2 separate regions of the Homo sapiens genome follow, and region 1 is linked to region 2. Evidence: promoter capture Hi-C in 16 types of primary human blood cells and fetal thymus (Javierre and others, 2016). All regions are on one chromosome and are shown on one strand. Each heading gives the region's core, a stretch centred on a gene start or on the middle of the fragment in contact. The rest is flanking DNA. Distances are from core to core; before and after follow the strand shown. Region 1 holds the start of TCF23 (transcription factor 23). Region 2 has its middle 17 kb from the start of ATRAID.

Region 1 (4,804 bases), core at 1,539-4,038, 45 kb after region 2:
TGGTGGCATAAGGCTGTAGTCCCAGCTACTGGGGAAGCTGAGGTGGGAGGATTCCTTGAGCCCAGGAGTTTGAGGGTACAGTAAGCTATGATTGCGCTACTGCACTCCAGCATGGGCGACAGTGAGACCCTGTCTCAACAATAAGTAAATAAATAAATAGTTGGGTGTGGTGGCTCACACCTGTAATCCCAGCACTTTGGGAGGCCGTAGTGGGTGGATCATCTGAGGTCGGGAGTTTGAGACCAACCTGGCCAAAGTGGTGAAACCCTATCTCTACTAAAAATAGAAAAATTAGCCGGGCATGGTGGTGCACGCCTATAATCCCACCTACTCGGGAGGCTGAGGGAGGAGAATCACTTGAACCGGGAGGTGGAGGTTGCAGTGAGCCAAGATTGCGCCACTGCACTCCAGCCTGGGCGACAGAGTGAAACTCTGTCTCAAAAAAATAATAGTACATATATAAATAAATAATAAAATAAAAAAGTTGATACCACTGCAATGTTATCCTCAGAGGGCAAAGATGACCCTTCCTTTTTAACACAGTGCACTCTTCAACCAGCTCCTTATGGCGCTGTCCCTGGAGACTGTTTAGTGGCTATGAGCTTAGGGTCTGAAGTCAGACACCCCTGAGTTCAAACCGCTTTCAGCCTCATAACCTCCCTAAGCTTCAGTTTCCTCATCTGTAAAGTAATCCTCATTTGGTTTTTGCATGGATTAAAAGACAAAAATACACTAACGTACTTAACCCAGCTCCTGGCCTATCTTTAGCACTCAACTGTTAGCTGTTATTGCAAAGATGATTAATGTTCATTAGACTTTCCATTTTGTACTCTGGAAGAGAAGTAAGGCTCATGTTAGCTTCTATTTTACGTGTAATAAAACTGAGGTTGAGAAAAGCTAGATTGCAGTCTGGCAAGTGGTGCGCGCCTTCCCTGTACTGCTGCCTGCTAACTCCCCCAGCTTGGTTGCTTCTAGAATGACGGTCCCTCAGACCGTTGTTCTCCTGGAGGACAGACCTCTCTTGCAACAGAAGCCTAGAAAGCACCAAGGCAGGCACAATGGGCTGAAGCTGCATGGGGATCTAGGACTCTCCTTGGTATAATTTCCTTTCCCAGGCCCCAGACTTGGAACCTGCTACATTTTTCCCTGTGACTCTAAGAACCCCAGAGTCTTTCCCTCCTCTTCAAGGAGGTGCATTCCCATGAAGCCATTTCCAGCCACACTCCCATGAGAAACCCAGGGTCAGCGCAGCCCCAAGGGTCAGCCTTGGCTCCTCTCCCTCTGAGACAGCAGGAGAAATTGGCTCCGACGTCAGTTCTGCACAGGGCAGGGGGCCCAAGTCCAATGTCCCCCCTCATTCCAATCCCTTTCTCCAAGGCCCTGGGCATTAAGATCCGCCTCTCAAGTCCCAGGGCTTGTGACTTACCTTGAGAGGGTGCAAGTAGCGGAGTCCACGCAGGAAGGGCGGCCAGGCAGGGCCAGGCAACTCGTGGCCGAGTGTGCGGGTGAGGTGGGCTATGTAGCTGGCGGCGAGCACCAGCACGTCCAACTTGGAGAGCTTGGTGTCGGGCGGCACGGCAGGCAGAGCAGCCTGCAAGGCCAAGAAGGCCTGGCGCAGCGTCCTGACCCGGCTCCGCTCCCGCGCGGCATTCTCAGGACTGGCCTCGCTCTGCACAGAGGGCCCCAGTGAGTGTGTGTGACCTGGACTCCCAACTGCCCTGACTTCTGAGAGCGTTTGAGCACAAGGTCTCCCACCAGAGTAGAAGGGTGTCTAGCAGTAGGCACCAGAGGGCCTCTGCCCACCTACGTCATCTGCAGCCCTGCCGCGTTTCACAGCTGAGGAAGTTGGGGGAAGGCCTGGCCAGGGGTCAGATGGCTGCAGGATGGCAGAGCTTGGCTCAGAACCCAGAGTCCTGTGTTCTCTCTACTACTCCACTCATGCCTCCTCAGAGCCTTTGTCCTGTCCCATGCCCAATCTGAATCCTGCTTATCAGGGTGTGCTGGGGCCAGGGGGAGTTCAGAGCTACACCCTGTTTGGGAGGGCGGACCCTTGACCTAGCCAGGTCCTGAGACGACGAGGCTGCTGTGGGAAAGAGGAAAGACACAGAACCAGGGGTCAAAGCACACAGGCTGAAGTCCCAGTCCTACCACTGGCTGCTGCTCAGTGACCTTGGGAAATTCACATCCCTCTTCCCGGCCTCAGTTTCCTCAAGAGAAGTGAGTTAGTGCAGCTCTCTGAGCTGCACTCTGGTTAAGACCAGCTCTGATCTATCCCAACTACCCAAAGCATGATGCCTTGGAGTCTAAGGGGCCAGTGTCCCCTCTCTTGGGCAGGAATGGTAATACTGAGTGAGGCTGTACCATCAGAGGTGACATCTCCCCACCTTCCAACCCCTTCCTCCCCTGGACCCCTCTGCAGGTGCAGGATTTCCTTACCCTGCCAAGAGCCAGGCCCCCAGCCCTGGTCCCTCGAGGGCCAGGGGTAGCTCTGCTCCATCTCTGGTTGCTCCAGCTTCTTTCTTCCCACGGGTCCTGCCTTGTCCTGCTGAGGCGGCTCCTCTTCCTGTCAGCGCCTGGCAGCAACCGTGCTTTGGCCTGAGTCTGGCTATGCCCCACCCCTGGCATGGCTGGTGGCCCTCTGGCCTTCCTCTGTGACATGCCACCCCACTGGGGCTGCAGCCCACAGAGCAGAAACACAGTGCCTGAGGAGGCCTTGGACTCAAGCTAGCTGGCTGTGGCTGGTCATCCAGCCAGCAATATCTACATCCGAGGAAGCTGGCGCCAACTCAGTCCTGTTTGCTCCCTGCTCTGGGAAAACCGCCCACCAGGCACAGCCCCCGCGAAAAGCCTCCGCCTGCCTCCTAACCCAGCTGAGAGGTGGGGGTGCTGGATGCTGGGAGTGGCCAAGCCTTGGGAGGAGGCCCATGCTGAAGAAGGCAGGAGGATAGTGGGGAAGGGAGCTCCTTTCCGGCCATGCCTAACCTCAACAGTGGTCCTATGGTGGACCTGTGACTTCCGCTTTGGAGCTCACGTCCATGGAGAGGACTTGAACCTCCTTCGTCTGTGCCAGAAGGCTGCCTGCATACATCCCTGAAAGGCCTTTCCTCCCCTTGCCAATGAACGTGACCTTCCAGCCACAGAGCGCGATTTGCCATGCCCCAAATATGCCTCCGATTTCCACTCTGTGTTTAAATTTACCTTTCCACGCCCCAGAATACCTTCCTCCAGCTCTGCCAGGAGGTACTGCCCATCCTTCAGGTCTCCGCCTTTCATTCGTGAAGACTTCAAATCCCGCAGGCCCAGAGCCCATGGGTCCCTGTTTGATTGGTACAATCACAGCCTGGCTACTTTCCCAGAAGTTCGATATTCATAGATTACTGTGTGCCAGGCACTGTGCTAAGCATCTTATTTATTTCTCAGAGCAACCTTTTAAGAAAAAAAGAGACTCAGTTTAGATGTGTGGGAACTGGTATACTGGGAGGTGAAATAACTTGCCCAATGTCAAACATCCGTTAAGTGGTGGGGTGGGATGAAAATCCAAGCCGTCAGTTGGACTTTGAAGGCTACCCCTCACCTGATGCTAGCCTGCCTCCCATGGGTTACTCACGCGTCTGTCCCCATGCTAGACATGAGGTCTCTGAAGGCAAGGACCATGGTGTTCCTGAGTTGCATCACATCCTCCAAGAGCTAGTTAGGAGAAGGCGGGCTGAAGGAATCGCGAATCTGCCACAGCAGCCCCTGCTGTCTTCCAGGGACCTCTGCCTGTAGCAGAATCCAGCCTGATGTCCCTTGTCCCCCATTCTCGAACCTCAGGGGAGATCAAATAAGTAAGGAGAAAGTAAAAAGGTGGATGTACAGTGAGAAAGATATGCAGCCCACCACAGAGAAAGGGAAAAAGAGGCCGGGCGCGGTGGCTCACGCCTGTAATCCCAGCACTTTGGGAGGCAGAGGCAGGTAGATCATGAGGTCAAGAGACGGAGACCATCCTGGCCAACTTGGTGAAACCCCGTCTCTACTAAAAATACAAAAATTTAGCTGGGTGTGGTGCCACGTGCCTGTAGTCCCAGCTACGCGGGAGGCTGAGGCAGGAGAATTGCTTGAACCCGGGAGGCAGAGGTTGCAGTGAGCCGAGATTGCCTGGGCTCCAGCCTGGGCGACAGAGCGAGACTCCATCTCAAAAAAAAAAAAAAAAAAAAAAAAAAAAGGAAAGGAAAGGAAGGAAGGAAGGGCCGGGTGCAGTGGCTCACACCTGTAATCCCAGCACTTTGGGAGGCTGAGATGGGCAGATCACGAGGTCAGGAGACTGAGACCATCCTGGCTAAGATGGGTGAAACCCCATCTCTACTAAAAATACAAAAAAATTAGCCGGGCGTGGTGGTGGGTGCCTGTGGTCCCAGCTACTCAGGGGGCTGAGGCAGGACAATGGCGTGAACCTGGGAGGTGGAGCTTGTAGTGAGCCAAGATCGTGCCACTGCACTCCAGCCTGGGCGACAGAGCAAGACACGGTCTTGAAAAAAGAAGGAAGGAAGGAAGGAAGGAAGGAAGCAAAGAAAGAAAGAAAGAAAGGTAGGTAGGTTAGTAGAAACAACCTGCATGTCCATCAGTAGGGAAGTCGTTAAATAAATTTTGGCATCTCCATACTATGAAATAATGTACAGTAATAAAAATAATGACAGCCCTTTGTTAAATGACATGAAAAACTCTTCAAAACACACAGTTGTGAAAAAAGCTAGTTGTAGATCAATATATATAGTAAGACCCCAGCCACGTAAAAAAATACACCAAAAAATAAAAAATAGAAATG
Region 2 (4,914 bases), core at 1,791-4,290:
GTGTGAGCCACTGCACCTGGCCAGGCCTCACCTTTTATACAGCTAAAGAAACTGCTATGCCACCCCAGGACTCTACCAGGTGTCAATCTGAAATTCTTGCATTTTAACTATATTTGCATAGAAGAGGAAATAAGAATGCCACAGGATTAAAAACTTTCAAGAGTTATGATATTTAAGGGCAAGTGGCAAAAAGATCCAATTCGTACAACTTTCAAACCTTATAACAGAGGGCAAAGATGCTCTTTCATTTCTAACATAGTAAACCTTTTTCTTCATGCAGCATTTAAAAAGTACTGTTTGATGGTTATGAGGGTGTAGTCTAAGGCTTGGGTTCAAATACTGGTGCATGCATTTAACCTTAAGCTTCAGTTTCTTCATCTGTTAAATGTGAAATTCACAGGGTTAAGGACTCAAAACTATGTTGCGTGCATATATGTACATATATGTATATATGCATTCCTTAAATATCAGTTATTGTAATAATTATTCATTGTAGTTTTCAAAGCACTTTTCATATACTACCTGATATTATTCCTTGGGAAAGAAATACTTCCTATATCGCCTGCGTTTTTAATATATAAAGTAACTGGATTGCTTGGCTGGTAAGTGCTTGAGGCAGAGCTAAAATGAGGGTCTGTGACTCCCAGTAGCCCACCAAGTTGTATTTGTGTTGTCATGAAAACAATGTCCTTTTGGATAGGATATTGTTACCTGTGTTCACAGAGTGTTTTCTGGGACATCAGTCCCTAGTACAGTGAGGTGCTAAGTTGGCGGCGATGGTGCTATATCATTCTAGAATCTTCCTGGAGCAGTGGCTTGAAAACTTTTTTGACTGAGACCCACAGTAAGAAATATATTTTACATCATGATCCAACACACACATAAATTACATATATGTTTGTTTCTTTTTTTTTGAGACAGGGCCTTGCTCTGTCGCCTAGGCTGGAGTGCAGTGTCACCATCTTGGCTCACCATAACCTCTGTCTCCCAGGCTCAACTTGAGCAATCCTCTCACCTCAGCCAGGGCTACATGGGGAAGTAGTTAGCCAGGGAACAACCCATAACATGATGTGAAGAACTCACATCAATTACAAACAAGGTAGTTTGGAGCCATTGACTTGATTCATGCTAAGATGGCTGCAGTTTTACCCAGATTGCTTTTACAATATCAGTGCAAATATCCATAGAGTGAAAATGGCAAATTACATTTTAGTATTACCGTATAAGAAAACAGTTTTCCAATTTCATCCATGTCCCTACAAAGGACATGAACTCATCATTTTTTATGGCTGCATAGTATTCCATGGTGTATATATGCCACATTTTCTTAATCCAGTCTATCATTGTTGGACATTTGGGTTGGTTCCAAGTCTTTGCTATTGTGAATAGTGCCGCAATAAACATACGTGTGCATGTGTCTTTATAGCAGCATGATTTATAGTCCTTTGGGGACTGTTGTGGGGTGGGGGGAGGGGGGAGGGATAGCATTAGGAGATATACCTAATGCTAAATGATGAGTTAATGGGTGCAGCACACCAGCATGGCACATGTATACATATGTAACTAACTGGCACATTGTGCACATGTACCCTAAAACTTAAAGTATAATAATAAAATAAAAAAAAAAAGAAAACAGTTTTAACTTTAGCGACCCCTTGATGTCATCTCAGGGACCCCTAGGGTTTCGTGGACCACACTTTGGGAACTGTTGCCCTAAACCAGGAGACATACAAGAACTATCATAATAACACACTAACCTCAGGCCAGGCGCCATGGCTCACGTCTATAATCCTAGCACTTCGAGAGGCCAAGGCGGGCAGATCACTTGAGCTCAAGAGTTCAAGACTAGCCTGGCCAACATGGAGAAACCCCATTTCTACTAAAAATAAAAAAAAAAAATAAACGAAAAAATTAGCCATACGTGGTCGTGCACGTCTGTGAGCCCAGCGTGAGCTGAGATCGCGCCACTGCACTCTAGCCTGAGCAACAGAGCAAGACTCTGCCAAACAAAACAAAACAAAACAAACAAAAACATAACCCCAATCTGGAGACAACCCAAAAGTCCATACGATCTAGTGTTACGTGCTTACAGGGGTGCTATGTAGCAATGGCAAACAAATTAACCACAATCACACACATTGACAGAACAATGTTGATCAAAAGAGAGCAGTCACAGAAGGAAACACTATGATTCTCTTTGTTAAAGTTCAACATGGAAAAAATTAAGCTCTATTGTTCTTGGCCCCATAAGAAGGTGGTAAAACCATGAAAAAAAGGCAAGGCAATGATTAACCCCAGGGTCAGGATAGTGGCTCCTTGAGGGAAGAGGGTGGATGATGTGGTCAGGGATGAGCTTTAAAAGTACCAGCACTGTTGTAGCGGACATCATAGAGGTTCACTTCATTTATTTATTTATTTTCTCTTTGAGACGGAGTTTCGCTCTTGTCACCCAGGCTGGAGTGCAATGATGCAACCTCAGCTCACTTTAACAAACTAGCCAGCACGGGTTCAAGCAATTCTTCTGCCTCAGCCTCCCAGGTTCAAGCAATTCTTCTGCCTCAGCCTCCCGAGTAGCTGGGATTACAGGTGCCTGCCACCATGCCAGGCTAATTTTTGTATTTTTGGTAGAGTCAGGGTTTCACCACATTGTCCAGGCTGGTCTCGAACTCCTGACCTCAGGTGATCCATCCGCCTCGGCCTCCCAAAGTGCTGGGATTACAGGTGTGAGCCACTGAGCCCAGCCTAGATGTTCACTTTAAACATTACAAATATGTATGTATTAAATGTGTGTATCTCACGGTAAATATTTTAAATCAATTGATATCACATGATGATCACTGGCATTGCTGTCTATTTTCAATATATTATTAAGGAGAAAAAGCAAGATGCAGAATAACATATAATATGCTACCATTTCTAGTAAAAATGATGAGCAAAAGAATATGTCAGTACTTGGCTGGCCGCAGTGGCTCATGCCTGTAATCCCAGCACTTTGGGAGGCCGAGGCAGGCAGATCACAAGGTCAGGAGATCGAGACCGTCCTGGCTAACACGGTGAAACCCTGTCTTTACTAAAAATACAAAAAATTAGCCAGGCGTGGTTGCAGGTGGCTGTAGTCCCAGCTACTTGGGGGACTGAGGCAGGAGAATGGCGTGAACCTGCGAGGCGGAGCTTGCAGTGAGCCAAGATTGCACCACTGCACTCCAGCCTGGGCAACAGAGCGTGACTCCATCTCAAAAAATAAAATAAAATATGTCAGCACTTGTTTGCATATGCATAAACTATCTCTAGAGTACTATAGAAGAAACTAACAATGATCACTGGCTGAGAGAGGGGCCAGCAGGAAGGGAGACAGGGGTAAGAGGGGCCTGATCTCTTATCTCTGTATGCTTTTTTTTTTTAAATTCTTTTTGATTTAGACATGGCTATCACAGAATTTCTATGCCTTTTTATACAATTTATAAAGGATAATATTTTAGTATTAGTAATACAAGAACAATTCCAGTATTACTAATACTAAAATCAATCCCTCCCTCCCTTCCTTCCTTCCTTCCTTCCTTCCTTCCTTCCTTCCTTCCTTCCTTCTTTCCTTCCTTTTTCTTGAGACAGGGTCTCATTGTGTCACCCAGACTGGAGTGCAATGGTGCAATCATGGCTCACTGCAGCCTTAACCTCCTGGGCTCCAGTGGTCCTCCTACCTCAGCCTCCTGAGTACCTGGGACTACAGGTGCACACCACCACTCTTGGCTAATACTTTTGAATTTTCTTTGCAGAGATGCAGGTCTTATCTTACCATATTGCCCGGGCTGGTCTCAGACTCCTAGGCTCAAACAATCTGCCCACCTTGGCCTCCCAAAGTGCTAGGATTACAGGTGTGAGTCATTGCACCCGGCCAAAGTATTTCTTAAAGCCCTATACATCAGGAAATTTAAAAATACTCCTAAATAACATCTGCATTAAAGAGAAAATCACACTGGAAATTATAAATCCTTTAAAAATGTACTGCAGCTAGAGCATCACATAGCAAAAACTGTGGCTTTAGATGGGCTATCTTAAATGTTCAATAATCTGATGGGCAAAAAAGAAAATCTCATTTAATTTGCTTTGTTTGATTAGTATTGAGTTTGAGCACCTTTCTCTTTTTTTCTCTTTCTTTTCTCCTCCTCCTTTTTCTTCTTTTTTGATTTAGATTTTTCTGTCAACTTCCTGGTCACATCCTTTGTCAATTTAAAACATTGTCAGAACTCTGTATATGTTCTGAATAGTAATTTCGTCAACAGTTTTTTCCCCTCACTCCCTTTTCCTTTAAATTTGATTATTTTAGTATTTCTTTTAACTCAAGTTTTAAATTTTATGAACGCAAATCTCTCAGTCTTTTATAGCTCCCATTGTTTGTTTGTTTTTGAGATGGAGTCTTGCTCTATTGCCCAGGCTGGAGTGCAGTGGAGCGATCTCGGCTCACTGCAACCTCTGCCTCCCGGGATCAAGTGATTCTCCTGCCTCAACCTCTGGAGTAGCTGGGATTACAGGCGCACACCACCATGCCTGGCTAATTTTTTTTTTTTTTTTTTTTTTTTTTTGAGACGGAGTCTCACTCTGTCGCCCAGGCTGGAGTGCAGTGGCGCGATCTTGGCTCACTGCAAGCTCCGCCTCCCGAGTTCACGCCATTCTCCTGCCTCAGCCTCCCGAGTAGCTGAGACTGCAGGCGCCCGCCACCATGCTCGGCTAATTTTTTTTGTATTTTTAGTAGAGACGGGGTTTCACCATGTTGGTCAGGAGGTCTCCATCTCCTGACCTCGTGATCCACCCACCTCGGCCTCCCAAAGTGCTGGGATTACAGGCATAAGCCACCGTCCCTGGCCCAGCCACCGCTCCCGACCCAGCTCCTGGGTTTTGTATTTTGTTGAGGAAGGC

Evidence for each region. The method cuts DNA at HindIII sites, captures the fragments that hold promoters and counts their contacts. A CHiCAGO score of 5 or more calls a contact.
Region 1: the fragment with the promoter of TCF23 here is called in contact with a fragment that was not itself captured in region 2 in 1 of 17 cell types (M2 macrophages); the score reaches 6.4 in M2 macrophages.

Annotation. Positions count from the first base shown.
Region 1 is chr2:27,146,988-27,151,791 of GRCh38, reverse strand. It overlaps TCF23 (transcription factor 23), which reads right to left and starts at 2,788. Exons shown (of 3, transcript NM_175769.3): 1 at 2,437-2,788; 2 at 1,427-1,669. The coding sequence starts at 2,658. The HindIII fragment of the contact is 12,568 bases long and covers 668-4,804 here.
Region 2 is chr2:27,192,321-27,197,234 of GRCh38, reverse strand. No RefSeq gene overlaps it. Among named protein-coding and RNA genes, the nearest start is that of ATRAID, 17 kb to the left of the region's middle. The HindIII fragment of the contact is 5,350 bases long and covers 366-4,914 here.